Regions from separate parts of the Homo sapiens genome. Here region 2 is linked to region 1. The links are contacts of gene promoters, found by promoter capture Hi-C in human tissues and cell types (Jung and others, 2019). All regions are on one chromosome and are shown on one strand. Each heading gives the region's core, a stretch centred on a gene start or on the middle of the fragment in contact. The rest is flanking DNA. Distances are from core to core; before and after follow the strand shown. Region 1 holds the start of GALR1 (galanin receptor 1). Region 2 has its middle 340 kb from the start of LINC01029.

What was found. Contacts are between HindIII fragments. The study calls those that stand out against the background at their distance.
Region 2: a fragment that was not itself captured here is called in contact with the fragment with the promoter of GALR1 in region 1 in 1 of the 25 tissues and cell types used here (spleen).

Annotation. Positions count from the first base shown.
Region 1 is chr18:77,248,159-77,254,585 of GRCh38, reverse strand. It overlaps GALR1 (galanin receptor 1), which reads right to left and starts at 4,738. Exons shown (of 3, transcript NM_001480.4): 1 at 3,372-4,738. The coding sequence starts at 4,037. LOC124904329 (a long non-coding RNA gene) reads left to right here and starts at 3,135. Exons shown (of 2, transcript XR_007066422.1): 1 at 3,135-3,738; 2 at 5,029-6,427. RefSeq lists enhancers at 3,088-3,759, 4,431-5,102. The HindIII fragment of the contact is 7,211 bases long and covers 234-6,427 here.
Region 2 is chr18:77,654,806-77,660,656 of GRCh38, reverse strand. No RefSeq gene overlaps it. Among named protein-coding and RNA genes, the nearest start is that of LINC01029, 340 kb to the left of the region's middle. RefSeq lists an enhancer at 1,421-2,382. The HindIII fragment of the contact is 5,299 bases long and covers 1,171-5,851 here.

The DNA.
Region 1 (6,427 bases), core at 3,489-5,988:
ACAACACTGGTCACTGAGGACACAGGAGAGACAACAGGAGAGGCCGCACAAGCAAAATCAAAGAGGGACACCTGGACAAATCACAACAAAATGTCCAAATGTGACCAGCTTCATAACGCTGCCGAGCTCCAATTGTTCCTTCCAAAAAGGAATTCGGATCACAGCTCAGCCACTTCAAAACACCCAAGAATGTTGAATGCTGTTAAATGGTCAATGGAGAAAATACTCAAGTCTATTTTTATTAGCTCTGCTTCTCTTCAATAGCTCCTACTATGAGCACAGAATGATATATTATGATGCACCCCACTGAAGGTCTCAGCAGCAAAGGAGGAAGAATGTAGGTACCATGATAGGGTATGACGACGTTTAAGAAGAGAGTGATAATAACATACTGGGGTCTCTTGGTGAGTCTGTAAATTTCTGAGTGTGCACAGGAAGGTGCTAGCTCAAACCAAACCCAGGTCCTGCTGGCTACATCCTGGGGATTCGGAGTAACTTAGTCGAGTGGGCCCATTGAGTTTATCCTCATGGTAGACCAAGGAGATTCTGGACAGTAATTCACTCTAAGGGAAGTGAGCGAGGGGCACAGACCTGGTGAAGAACAGCTCCATAGCAGCAGAGGGGAGGGCTCTTCAGGGGGCACTGGGCAGACCACTTCGACTCATCCTCCCACCCATGTATTCGATGAGTTTCCCAGAAACTGTCTGGTGCAAAAGACTGCTCCCTTACAAACTTGTGAGAATTTGGAGGCAAAAGGCAACTCTGGAATGCAATTGTCTTAAGTTTTTTTGTTTATTTAAAGCATCATAACCTCAGGTTCCCTTTTAGCCATCTGTGTTTTTTCAGGCTATCCAAAAGGCCTGGGGTTTGGAGGAACAGCTAATCCTGAAACTAATACTCAAGTAGCAAAATCCTTAACTGGATGGTGCACACCTAATGCCTGAGCCAAAGAAAATCAACTTGAAATAACTGAAATCTCCACCTATCCATGACAGCCCTGAAATTAACTTGCAAATATTATGAATATTATGCTGAATTCAATTTACTCCTAAAATCTTACTTTGTCATTTCCAGTAAGAAGATTTTAGCTCTTCTCCCTGAAGGCTTTGGGGAAATAAGGAAGCGTGTGCTTCAGTTCTCCACAGTAATTAGGAACTTAACAGCCATATATGTTAAGAATCTCAATCTCAGACTTCAATGTCCTCAAGGCCTCACCAACTGTCCCGTCCTCAGAAGACTGGGAATCCCTGTGTTAAAATCCTTCCAGAATCATTCACCAGCTTCATAATCTGGGTCAGGTGTTCCTTTCCAAAGCTCTTTTTCCTTAAATAATAAAATACGGGTAAATAATAAAATAGCTCCAAGCCACAGAGTTGTGCAAATTAAATGAGATGGTGCACATATCAGATAATTGTGCTATGTAAGATAGCCTTTGTTTAGCATCTGCGGAAGACCACGTTAATAAACCAGCCATTTTCCAAATAGCTAAGCTAGAGTTCTTTTCCAAATTCCCTTACTGCTACTATATTGGTGGTGGTGGTGGTGGTGGTGATGGTGGTGATGGTGGTGGTGGTGGTGGTGGTGGTGGTGGTGGTGATGGTGGTGATGGTGGTGATGGTGGTGGTGATGGTGGTGATGGTGGTGGTGGTGGTGGTGGTGGTGATGGTGGTGGTGGTGGTGGTGGTGGTGATGGTGGTGGTGGTGATGGTGGTGGTGGTGGTGGTGGTGGTGTTTTGAGACAGAGTCTCGCTCCGTTGTCAGCCAGGCTAGAGTTCAGTGGCACGATTTCGGCTCACTGCACCCTCCGTCACTTGGGTTCAAACAATTCTTCTGTCTCAGCCTCCGGAGTAGCTGGGACTACAGGGGCCCGCCACCACACCCAGCTAATATTTGTATTTTTAGTAGAGACGGGGTTTCACCCTGTTGGTCAGGCTGGTCTCGAATTCCCGACCTCAGGTGATCCACCCACCTCGGCCTCCCAAAGTGGTACTGTATTTCTTCATATTTAACCTTTTGGTGCAGGCCGTTCAGATAATATCCAGCAATATTATTATTCAAAATAGACACAATCTACCTAGATGAAATAGGTGGGGGGAAACAGGTGGCTTATAGTAAACACTTTTGTTGATAAAAATACCTTGTGACTTGAGTATTAAAAGTGATAGTTGTTCTACCTAGTCAGGTTATTTGTGGTCGTATAGTCACAGCCTTATTGAAACAGAATGAGAGACAGCGGTGAAGTCGGGTGGAACTGGTAACAGCTGTATTTCAAATGGCGATGCTCTGGAGCGAGGAGGTTGCGCACATTAGGGTTTACCCGGTGAATCGCCATCACCTGATTATTAAAATAAGCTCCCGTTTACGCAAATAAAAACACGTATGTCAAAGGCTGAAGACGTTTTGATCAGTATAAAGTCTTCAAACCCTTGTGGACTTAATGAGAAAAAGAATGTGAGTGCTGAGCTCTGCCCGGCTGTACAAAGGGAAAAACTATCTCCCACACGCGTGGACGGTGCCTCTGCTACAGTTAGGGTGAAGACCCGCCGCCTCAACCACTTCACCCTGTTCAGGAGACCTTTCTAAAAAGGATTGAAATGGGGAAGCCGAAAGCTCGAGTCCATTCCATTCCAAGTTCCTGGAGCCTGCGGTCAAGACTCTGTAAAGAAACACCCTTTTGCACTTGGGTTTACAAAGCTAAGCTTCAGAATAAAATAAAATTCGAGGCTCTGTCCCCGGGAGCAGCGGCTTCACAGAGCCCGGTGTGCGCAAAGCCTTCGGAGCGAGGGCAAACTGCGCACCCCGGGGGAGAGGGGCCGCCCCGCGAGTCCCCCCCGCCACGGCCAGCTGAGAGCCCGGGAGGGAGCTGTGGGGACCCGTCACCCTCGCAAAAGGTCCGCGCTCTGGTGACCACCAGAGCTCTCCTCAGGTCCCACAGCGCCGCGGCGGTAACCTCCCCGCGCAGCTGATCTGGTTGAAGAGTTGCTGGAACCGAGCGGGGTTTGCTGTACCGGGAAGGATGCGGCAGCGCCCGCCTACCTACCGCCCAGGCAACCTGGGGGCGTTGAAGGGCCGCAGGGCCGAGGAAGGGGAGGGGAGGAGAAACTGGTTCTACTGGACCATGCGAAGTGAACTGCAAACTTTCCCCAGCATCTCTCAGACTCCAAGTAACTTTCTTGCGCAAGCCAATGGCACGCTCCAGCAGCGGCCAGGAAGCCTCTCTGCACAGATCCGTACCAGCGCCGCCAGAGTGGGGACCACCGGGGCCAGGCTGCCGCCAAGGCTCCGGCAGGGCCGCGGGACACTGAGACCCCAGGGCCCCCACCGGCCCTCCGCCCTCCCTCGCGCGTCTCGGCCCCGCGACCGGCGTGCACCTTGGCATAGCAGAAGCAGATGAGCAGGAGCGGCAGCAGGTAGCCGAAGACGAAGGTGCACACCACGTAGGCCTTCTTGTGGCGAGGGTCGGGCCACTGCTCCCAGCAGAAGGTCTGGTTGCTGGCGCGCGGGTGGAAGAGGCCCTGGTGGTAGGCCACGGGCGAGGCCATGGCAATGGACAGCGCCCAGATGCAGCCCACGCCCAGCAGCGCGTTGCGGGACACCCTGAGGGAGGAGGAGCGCCGCGAGTGCACGATGGCCACGTAGCGGTCCACGGACATCGCGGCCAGGGTGAAGATGCTCACCAGCATGGACACGGTGAAGAAGTAGTGGATGAACTTGCAGATGAAGGCGCCCAGCACCCAGGTGGGCAGCGCGTACACGGTGGCCTGGAAGGGGATGCAGAAGAGCAGGTAGGCCAGGTCGGCGATGCTCAGGTTGAGGATGAACAGGTTGGTGGTGCTCCGCGGCTTGCCCGGCTTGCTGCGCGCCAGCACGGTGATCACTAGGCTGTTGCCCAGCACACCCAGCGCGAAGATCAGGCCGAACACCACCAGCGTGACGAAGTTCTCCACGCCGATGCCGAACAGCGGCCCGGGCTCCGGGGCGGGGGGCTCCGGCCAGCTCGCGTTGCCCTCGCTGAGGTTCCCGACCGCCAGCTCCATGGCCCGCGGGGCTGTCCCGGCGAGCGGCGGGGCGCGCGGGGAGGGAGGGCGGGATAGTAGGCGCCGGGGGTGGCCAGGGGTCCCGGCGCAAAGCACGGAGAGTGCGAGTTTAGGAGTCTGAGCTTCCCCCGAGGCGCGAGCCAGCGGGAGCGGGGATCCGGTGGCCGTGCCTGGTGGCACCGTCTTTGCGCCGGGACCTTCTGAGAGAGGGTGGGTTCGGGAGCCCGGAGCTGGACCTTCTCGGGAAGGGACGGTGATCTCGAGAGCACTGGGGTCCCCTTCCCGGGCGCCTCCGCCCGCTGCGCGACCACGGAGCCTGGGAAGAGGGATCCGCCGGCTGCAGCCGCGCAGGTGGAAAGACCCTTCTCTCCGCCTTACCGCTCCAGATCTTCGCCGGCGGTTTTCCCTGGCTCCCGGAGGGGCTGCGTGCTGCACCTGTTGCTCGGAGCCGCTCCTTCCCGCGGCGCTTCCCCGCACTGCCCAGCGCGCAGCAGTGCACTGTGCGGCTCCTGCAGAGAAGGCTCCCCGCGCATCCCGCGCGCCCAGCGCCACCTCCCCAGTGGGCTGGCGCCTCCGACTCCCTCCCGGCTTTTCCAGGGATTCCGAGTCGTCCACAGGGCGAGAGCTCTTTTGGGAGGCTTCCTGGTGGTGGATAGAGTCGGGTGCCAGGGGCTTCTCTGCTGCAACTGAGAGGCGAAAACAGCTCGGCTGAAATCCGCGCCCCTTAGAAGTCACGGTGCGCGAGCAGAGACTGGACGGATTCTAGCGGGATGGGTCGCCGCCCACCTCCCGGCTGGAACCGGAGCGCGCTCGCCTCTGCGGAGTGCGGACCTGCCCGGCGGGCTGAAGGCGGGGCTGCCGGATGCCGCGGGCCAGGCGGGCGAGGGAAGCCGGGCGCGCTCCAGGGCGTTCCAGGGCGCGCCGGGGTGGGAGGCGGAGGGGTGCGCGGGCCTCCTCATCCATTAGTGCCTTTCCTCCTCCTCCTCCCCAGGGTGGCTGTCCGTGAGAACGCCTCTCTCCCAGGAATAACCCCAGGAAATCGAGGCTGGCGACGCTCCCTGGAGTTTTGTAAAATTGGCCGCCTAATCCCACCCTCACCCCGCGGCCTGCTACAGAGGAGAGAAGTGCAAAGGGAAAGGGCCGCGTGAGCTTCTCTATAGACGTGGCTGACATGGAAGGGGAAGGCTGTTCACACCACCCAACCTCACTTCATTTTTGCCTTGTATTACTCATCTGAGGGACATAAACTGCAGCAGTGACAAACGAAATATTTTTAAAGTGAAAGAAAGTGTTTAGTATCTTACTGCCGTAAATGTGGATTTGCCAGAAAGAAATTAAGCCGTTTCGGTATAGCAGGGCCAGTCACGTTAGCTTTGTAACCTTGGTGGTTCCCAGCTAGAGAGCTGACACTGATTCCTTTATTTGCGGTGATTTGTCTGTTTTCACTTTCAAAAACACCGATGCGTTTCCAGCATTCACCATCTGGTGACTGTCCATTATGCGCGGACGCAGTGCCTGAGGGGATGGGTAATCCAAAGACCAAAGAGGGCAGGGGCTCTTTGCCTTGAGGAGTTAAGGAAGTAGGATCTTGTTTTTCTACCTTGCTAGCTCTGTTCTGCCTCATTTCCAGATAAATCTTGATGCAGTTCATTGAACATCTATGTATTTTATCTACATTCATTGCTAGGGAGTTCCTTGCAAGGGAATTGTTCTATTCACACACATTTTCTGGAAGACAAAATTGAGTGTAAGCAACTTGCCTATTTGGGTATCCTGCTAAAGCCAAGAATGCTCTTACCTGCCCCGACCTGAGAGAATGCCTTGAAACTTCCTCAGGTGATCTTGCCAATCCGTATTGCTTTTCTTCCCTGAGACGCTCTCCGACCCAGGCTTTCAAAGTATCATGTTGTATTTGACAGCTCTGTTGCATTGAAAGTTAGTAGTAATATGATTTGGGAGAGTTTTTAAATTATGAACTATTTTCACATGAAACAGATATGATAAAATTACATTGAATACCAATGCACCCACCATCTAGCTTAGAATAATTTTTAAATATTATCACTAGAGTTGAAGTCACTTTTATATATTTTCCAGTCACAACCTCCACCTCTCCCACTATCTCCAAGTAACCTAAATTTGTTGTCTATTAGTCATTTCTTTATACATTTTTGGCATACGCATATGATCTTAATATATTGTGGTGATTTTTTTTTTTTTTTTTTTTTTTTTTGCTTTAACATTATGTGGTTGGTATTATGGTACATGTTTTGTTTGTTTTTGCCTTAAAGTATAATTTGTCTGTTATTGCTATAAGTACAACAACATTCTTTGCTTTGTATTTGCCTGTTACATCTTTTACAGCCTTCCTATGTTATGTCCTGCAATTT
Region 2 (5,851 bases), core at 2,571-5,070, 410 kb before region 1:
CACCATTGAAGTTGGTTGCATTTATTTCTCTGCAGCAGGATTCAGTAAACCTTTTCTATCATGGGCCAGGTAGCAAATATTTTTGGCTTTGCAGGTGTCTTTGTCTGCTCAGCCACTGCTGGAGGATGGGGAAGGAGCAGTGTTGGTGATTCAACACCATTTCTCCGACCCTCTTCAGTGCCTCCTTCAGTGATATGAAGTTAAAACCAGGTACTATTATTATTAACCTGATTTTTTGGTTCTCATCAAGTTGCTTTTTTGTGTAGATAGTTGTTCGATTTGGTGTTCTTGCTGTAGTGATGATTGGTGAAGGCTTCTATCTTGCTATCTTGCTCTCCCCTCTCCTCAGGCACCTCTTGTTGGAAGTGCATAGCACCCCCACAGGCTGACTTACCAAAAATGTGATAGGAAAGATGACTTCATTCCTGGAGTTGGAGAGCAAGGCCCTGACTGATAGACTCAATCAAGGATTCACCTGGGCGATGGTGAAGAGTAGACATCAACACTTCCAGGTACAACTGGGAGATTATTTCCACCACCGAGGAAGACTGTTCCTATTAGATAAGGCAGTTTCAGGGACTGGCTGGTGTGCCGTGGAGAGCATATGAATGCTGTCGGGGGTTATACCAAAACACTCCCGGAATGGCCAAGACGAGAAGCAGAGAGACAGAAAACGTAAAAGAAACAACTAAGAGGCCAGGCTTTACAATTAAAATACTTATGTCAGAGGCTTGGGTCCATCCCATCAGTGTTTAGAGATGTCTAGGAGCATAGAAACAAGCAGATTTCAGGCCATTTCCTAGAAGGCAAGTTTTAAAAATGTATATATGTATATAACAGAACTAGAAACCCAGAAAGAGGAGGCTTTAGATGAGAAATGTGAGCTAAGCTGAGACTTAAATCAGGAGGGGGCAGAGGTGACTGTCAGTGAAATGCTTTATTCTAAGCACAGCCTGCCGGACCTGAGCACCATCCCCATTCCTTCCAGCCATAGAAGCTGGCTAGGAAGAGGAATTACTGAAGTGGATGTTGTGGTCACCACTCAGATTCTCCCTTAGGAGTGAGGCACTAACCCTCAGCTTCCCGGGCGATGGCTGTCAAAGTTGCCAGCTAAGTCTCTTAGAGTTGCCCTTGGCTGAGGGGTCATCCTGTCCACACAACGCATCCCACGAGGCCTCCCAGCATCCATGGGTAGTGCCTTTGCTTCATGCTGGGCATCCTGAAGGGCCATTCCAGCCTCAGAGCTCCTCAGGGGCCTCGGTCACCTCACAACTCAATTCCTTCTTCTGCTCAAAACTGCTTCCCCCAGTCCCTGAAAGGTGCTCTCTCAGCAGCATCCTCAGTAAACCTCCGGCATGCAAGTCTCCCTCTGAGAGTGTTTCCCAGGAAGCCCAAATTACCATGCAAGATGGTAACAGTCAACACCCCTGGCTGCAGCACTGTGGGAATTTTCAGGACATTAGGCTGCTGGGACCTGGCCGCTGCCTTTGTATAGCACATGTGTTGAATCCCTCTTAATCTGCTGTAATGCTTGTCCCCAGGACTTGCACAGAAAGATGATTGTAAGGAAGACATCTCCACCCCATGACTTAGAAATCAAGGGGCACTGAAGAAACTAGGCAATGCAGGACAGCAGCCATCTGCAGGAGGGAGGTCCCTCTGCATGAGCTCACAGCACTTGAGCCATCTGGAGGAGGGAGGTCCCTCTGCATGAGCTCACAGCACTTGAGCCATCTGGAGGAGGGAGGTCCCTCTGCATGAGCTCACAGCACTTGGGTCTTTGGTCTTCAGAAACTGCTATCAGTTGCTCTCTGTTGGTGAGGTGGTGACCGTGAGGCACTGCCCAGATGCCCCTTCAGGAAGTCCCCCAACTCCTTCGGTGCTGCTTCCCTCCTCACACTGGGCCTTCCTGGGGCAGCCCCCGCCAGCATGGGGCTACACAGATTGGACCCTTTCTGGAACTTGGGGCACCCCGGGGCTCCCCATTGGCTTGGCTGAGCCTCCTTTGAGATTGCATCATAGTTCAACCTGTCCCTTTCCCCAGCCCTATATGCTTCCCTTCCCTCCCTTCCCCCGGGGTGGACTGCAGGAACTTCCCTAATTAATGTCCTGTGTGCTGACCCCTGCCTGCAAGGCAGTTCCAGGGATCTCAAACTGGAGGGGTAGTGACGTCACTTCTTGATAAACAATTGGCACCGTTCCACGGAAAGCTCCAGGAGGATTAGGCTCCCCTAGCTCCAGCGTTGAAGTGAGTCAACCTCATGCCATCTTCTGTGGACACCACGGTGTTCCCAGGAGTGACAGCAGTGACGGATCCAGCCCTTCCCCTGCAGGTACTCACCCAGGCCTACAGGCCTCCCACGGACAGGGAAAGATGCTTTCAACACGGGCAGAGAACTGTTGATGCTTCAAGTCTCTGCCATCTGAGCGGAACGTGTTGGGGGCGGAGATTAACCTGTCATCAGTTGCGTTCTGGCATCTTCCCCTAAACAGAGCTCGGGGTGTGCTGAGTCTCCATCCTTCCCCCAGCGCCGCCTCCTCCGTGTGTCCTGTCAGGGAGATGAGGTGACTTTGTGTTTCTTCGCAGCTATGGGGAGATGAGGAGGGAATCGCCGGGTGTTGCGTCTTCCCTGTGCACCTGGGCCCTTAATCGTTGATGCTGCAGAGTGGCAGGGCACCAGAGCCCACCACAAGCCCCCGTGGAATCTACTGAGCTGAGGCCCCTCCAGCTCAGGTGTGCAGTGTGTGGTCTGAAGCCAGCCCTTCAGTCCCTGGCCCTGCTGCCCGATCCCAGGCTTCAGACATGTGGGGGATCCTCCCTCCGCCGGCCCCAGAGCGCTCGGTGAGGCCAGCGGCCCGCGGACTCTGTCTCCTGTGCTCCAGTCTGGCTTCTGCCTCCAGGCGACCACGGCACAAACCAGAAACGGTGGCTGAGGGCGGTCTGCAGCCTCCTGAGTGGTTTCCTGGGGGCACTGATCTGCGCTGGCCGCTCCGGGCTTCTCCACCTGGGCTCTTCCCAGAGCCTCCCTGAGTGGCGCTGAGGCCCGGGCACCTGAGTCATCCCTTCCTCCTTTAAACCTCTTTCCCGCGTTCCTGGCCAGAGGGGTAGCCTGGGCTTCGCTTACCCTCTTTCGTGTCATTAGGACTGCATTCCTTACCTAACATGATCCTGTCCTTATAAAATGCCAGATCCTTTTCCCTCCAGAAACCGGTACCATGACCTACTTTCAAGGTGCAAGAGGGAAAGAAGAAATGTACAAATAAAGGAGCAAAAACCTATAGTTACTGCAAAATTAAGACACATTCTATTCATGTTTAATGTGGAGGAATTTCAAAAATCTATAGTTACTGCAAAATTAAGACACATCTATTCATGTTAATATAGAGGAATTTTAAGGAGAAAAAATAAAATAGATCATAATACCACCTTCTCTGGCTCCTAGTCTGAATGAATTCTTCTTGGATGCTCCAAATTAAATATCAAAATTTTCTATTTCAGGCACTCCTCAGTATGGCTTATGGAAATACTGTGGGATATTGAAAACAAGGAAACTCCTCACCAAGAGAATTACTTTCTCTCTTCATAAATGAACCATGCGCTGTGCACAACACAAGTGGTGTGAATAGAGCCACCTGGCCCTGACTCTTTAGAGAAGATCTGTTAATAGAAAAGCACATTTTCTGAAATGATCCATGTGTAGGAACGTGCCAGGAGCCTGGGACTAAGAGCACAATCTCTGAGTCCCACAGCCCCTACTGGGGGCTCCATCCCCAGCACTGCAAGAATGGGAACATAGATCCATGTAGACAACTGTGTCCTGAAGAAGTGCACACAAACAGACCAGCACCCCAAATTCAGGATGGCTTGGGCTGCATTTAGGGGTTCAGTGGTCACTCGTGCTGCATTTGGGAGTGTGTACTTCCTTCATGTATGGCTGATGGAGATGAGGAAATGTTGTCATCCTATGATCTGTAGGATGGATTCATTTTAAAAGGTGCTCAGAGCTATCTCGGCAGGCCTTGCCATCTCTCAGAGGTGATGAGAAGGTGCTGGGGAATGTGTAATCCCAACACATGTGTCTCCTGAGACAACACGTTAGGTGTTAGGAAGCTTAAGACGGCCCTCAAGGGGAGGCAATTCTGCAGGAATGCCCTGGTAAGAACCAGTTCCTCCGAACCTCCGTGAAAAGTGTCCTACATGGTGTCTCCACATCATATGACCAGGGCACCCCCAAAGCAGAATGGCCCTCAACAGCAATGGGAACCCACACCCCCAGAGCCCTTGCACCTGCAGAGGTCAAAGGTTACCTGGTATTCAAGGCCCCAGTTGACTGATCAGGATGTTCCCGGTAAGAGTGTCTTTTCTGACCCTCCCCAGAACTAGGTTTTACACACAAATTCAAGTTTTGAAGATTTATAGACGAGAGATGATATAATATCTGGGCCACAACAGAAAAAAGCATAAGCAGCCAGGCATGGTGGCTCATGCCTTTAATCCCAACACTTTGGGAGGCCAAGGCGGGAGAATTGCTTGAGCCCAGGAGTTTGAGACCAGCCTGGGCAACATAGTAAGGCCCCGTCTCCACAAAAAATACACAAAAAGCTTAGCCAGGCATGGTGGCACGTGCTTTTGTCCCAGTTAGTCAAGGGGCTGAGGTGGGAGAATCCTTTGAACCCAGGACTTTGAGTCTGCCGTGAGCCATGTTCATGCCACTGTCCTCCAGCCTGGACAACAAAGCAAAACCCTGTTCCCCCACCAAAAAAAAAACCATGAGCTCTCTAGAAGGAAACCACCTGATGCTGAGGATGGTATAAATTGCTCATCAAACAGAACTCCTGGTTGTGGAATTGTTCATCATGGAAAAGCCCTGAGGATGTTGCACAGAGAGCCCCTTCCCTTGTGCCCATTCACCACAAACTATTTTATGTGTCTACTCTAGCTCCAGTCTCAATGTCACAGGGCCAGTGCCCACAGCAGCACTCAGGGCGTCATCATCAACTAGAGTCAACAAGGGACACAGAGGCCTCATCCACTGACTGAGCCAGGGTTGCAGGGGCTTCCCAGGCATGCGCCATGCTGTGGACTGAATTATCTCCCCAGGATTTGCATATGGAAGCCTAACCTTCAGTATGATGGTGTTTGGAGATGAATCCTTTGGGAGGTGATGAGAGTGAGATGAGGTCATGAAGGAAGGGTGAGGTTAGTGTCTTTCTGATAGGAGACTCCAGGGCATGCCCTCTCTCTGTCTCTCCACCAAGGGAGGGCACAGTGAGACAGTAGCATCTGCAAGCTGGGAAGCCATGGTGGATTTAACTGGCTGTGGAGGTGGAAGTGGCTTTAACTGGATGTGGAGGCGGAGGATTTTTATGACTCTGGGTTTAATGGTTCTAGCACAAAGTGGAAGAGGTCATGAGGCCAAAATGTTGGCGTTTTGTCTGCTAAACTCAATGGTAGACCCTGGTCTTCCAAGTGGCCCATTGGAAGAGCCTTCAGCCCACATCCTTCGCTGACTGAACGCAGGTGCATTTGCTGCCTTCTGCTGCTGGAACACCTGCTGCAAACCCCTGCTGGCCTGAAACAACACAAATGCATGATCTCCCGTGATGGAGGCCAGAAGTCTGAAATGGAACTCATGGGCTGGTACTCAGATGTCAGCAGGCTGCTCCTTCTGGGGGCTCAGGAGAGCCCCCAGCCCCTCCCCTTCTCCAGCTCCTGGAGGCCACCTGGACTCCTCAGCCAGAAGCGCAGTCAATGCAACCGATTGGCATCTTCAATCTCTCTTTGGCTGCAGCCCTCAGCCTCTCTTTCCATGTTTAAAGGGTCCCATGGGTATATTGGGTCCATGTGGAT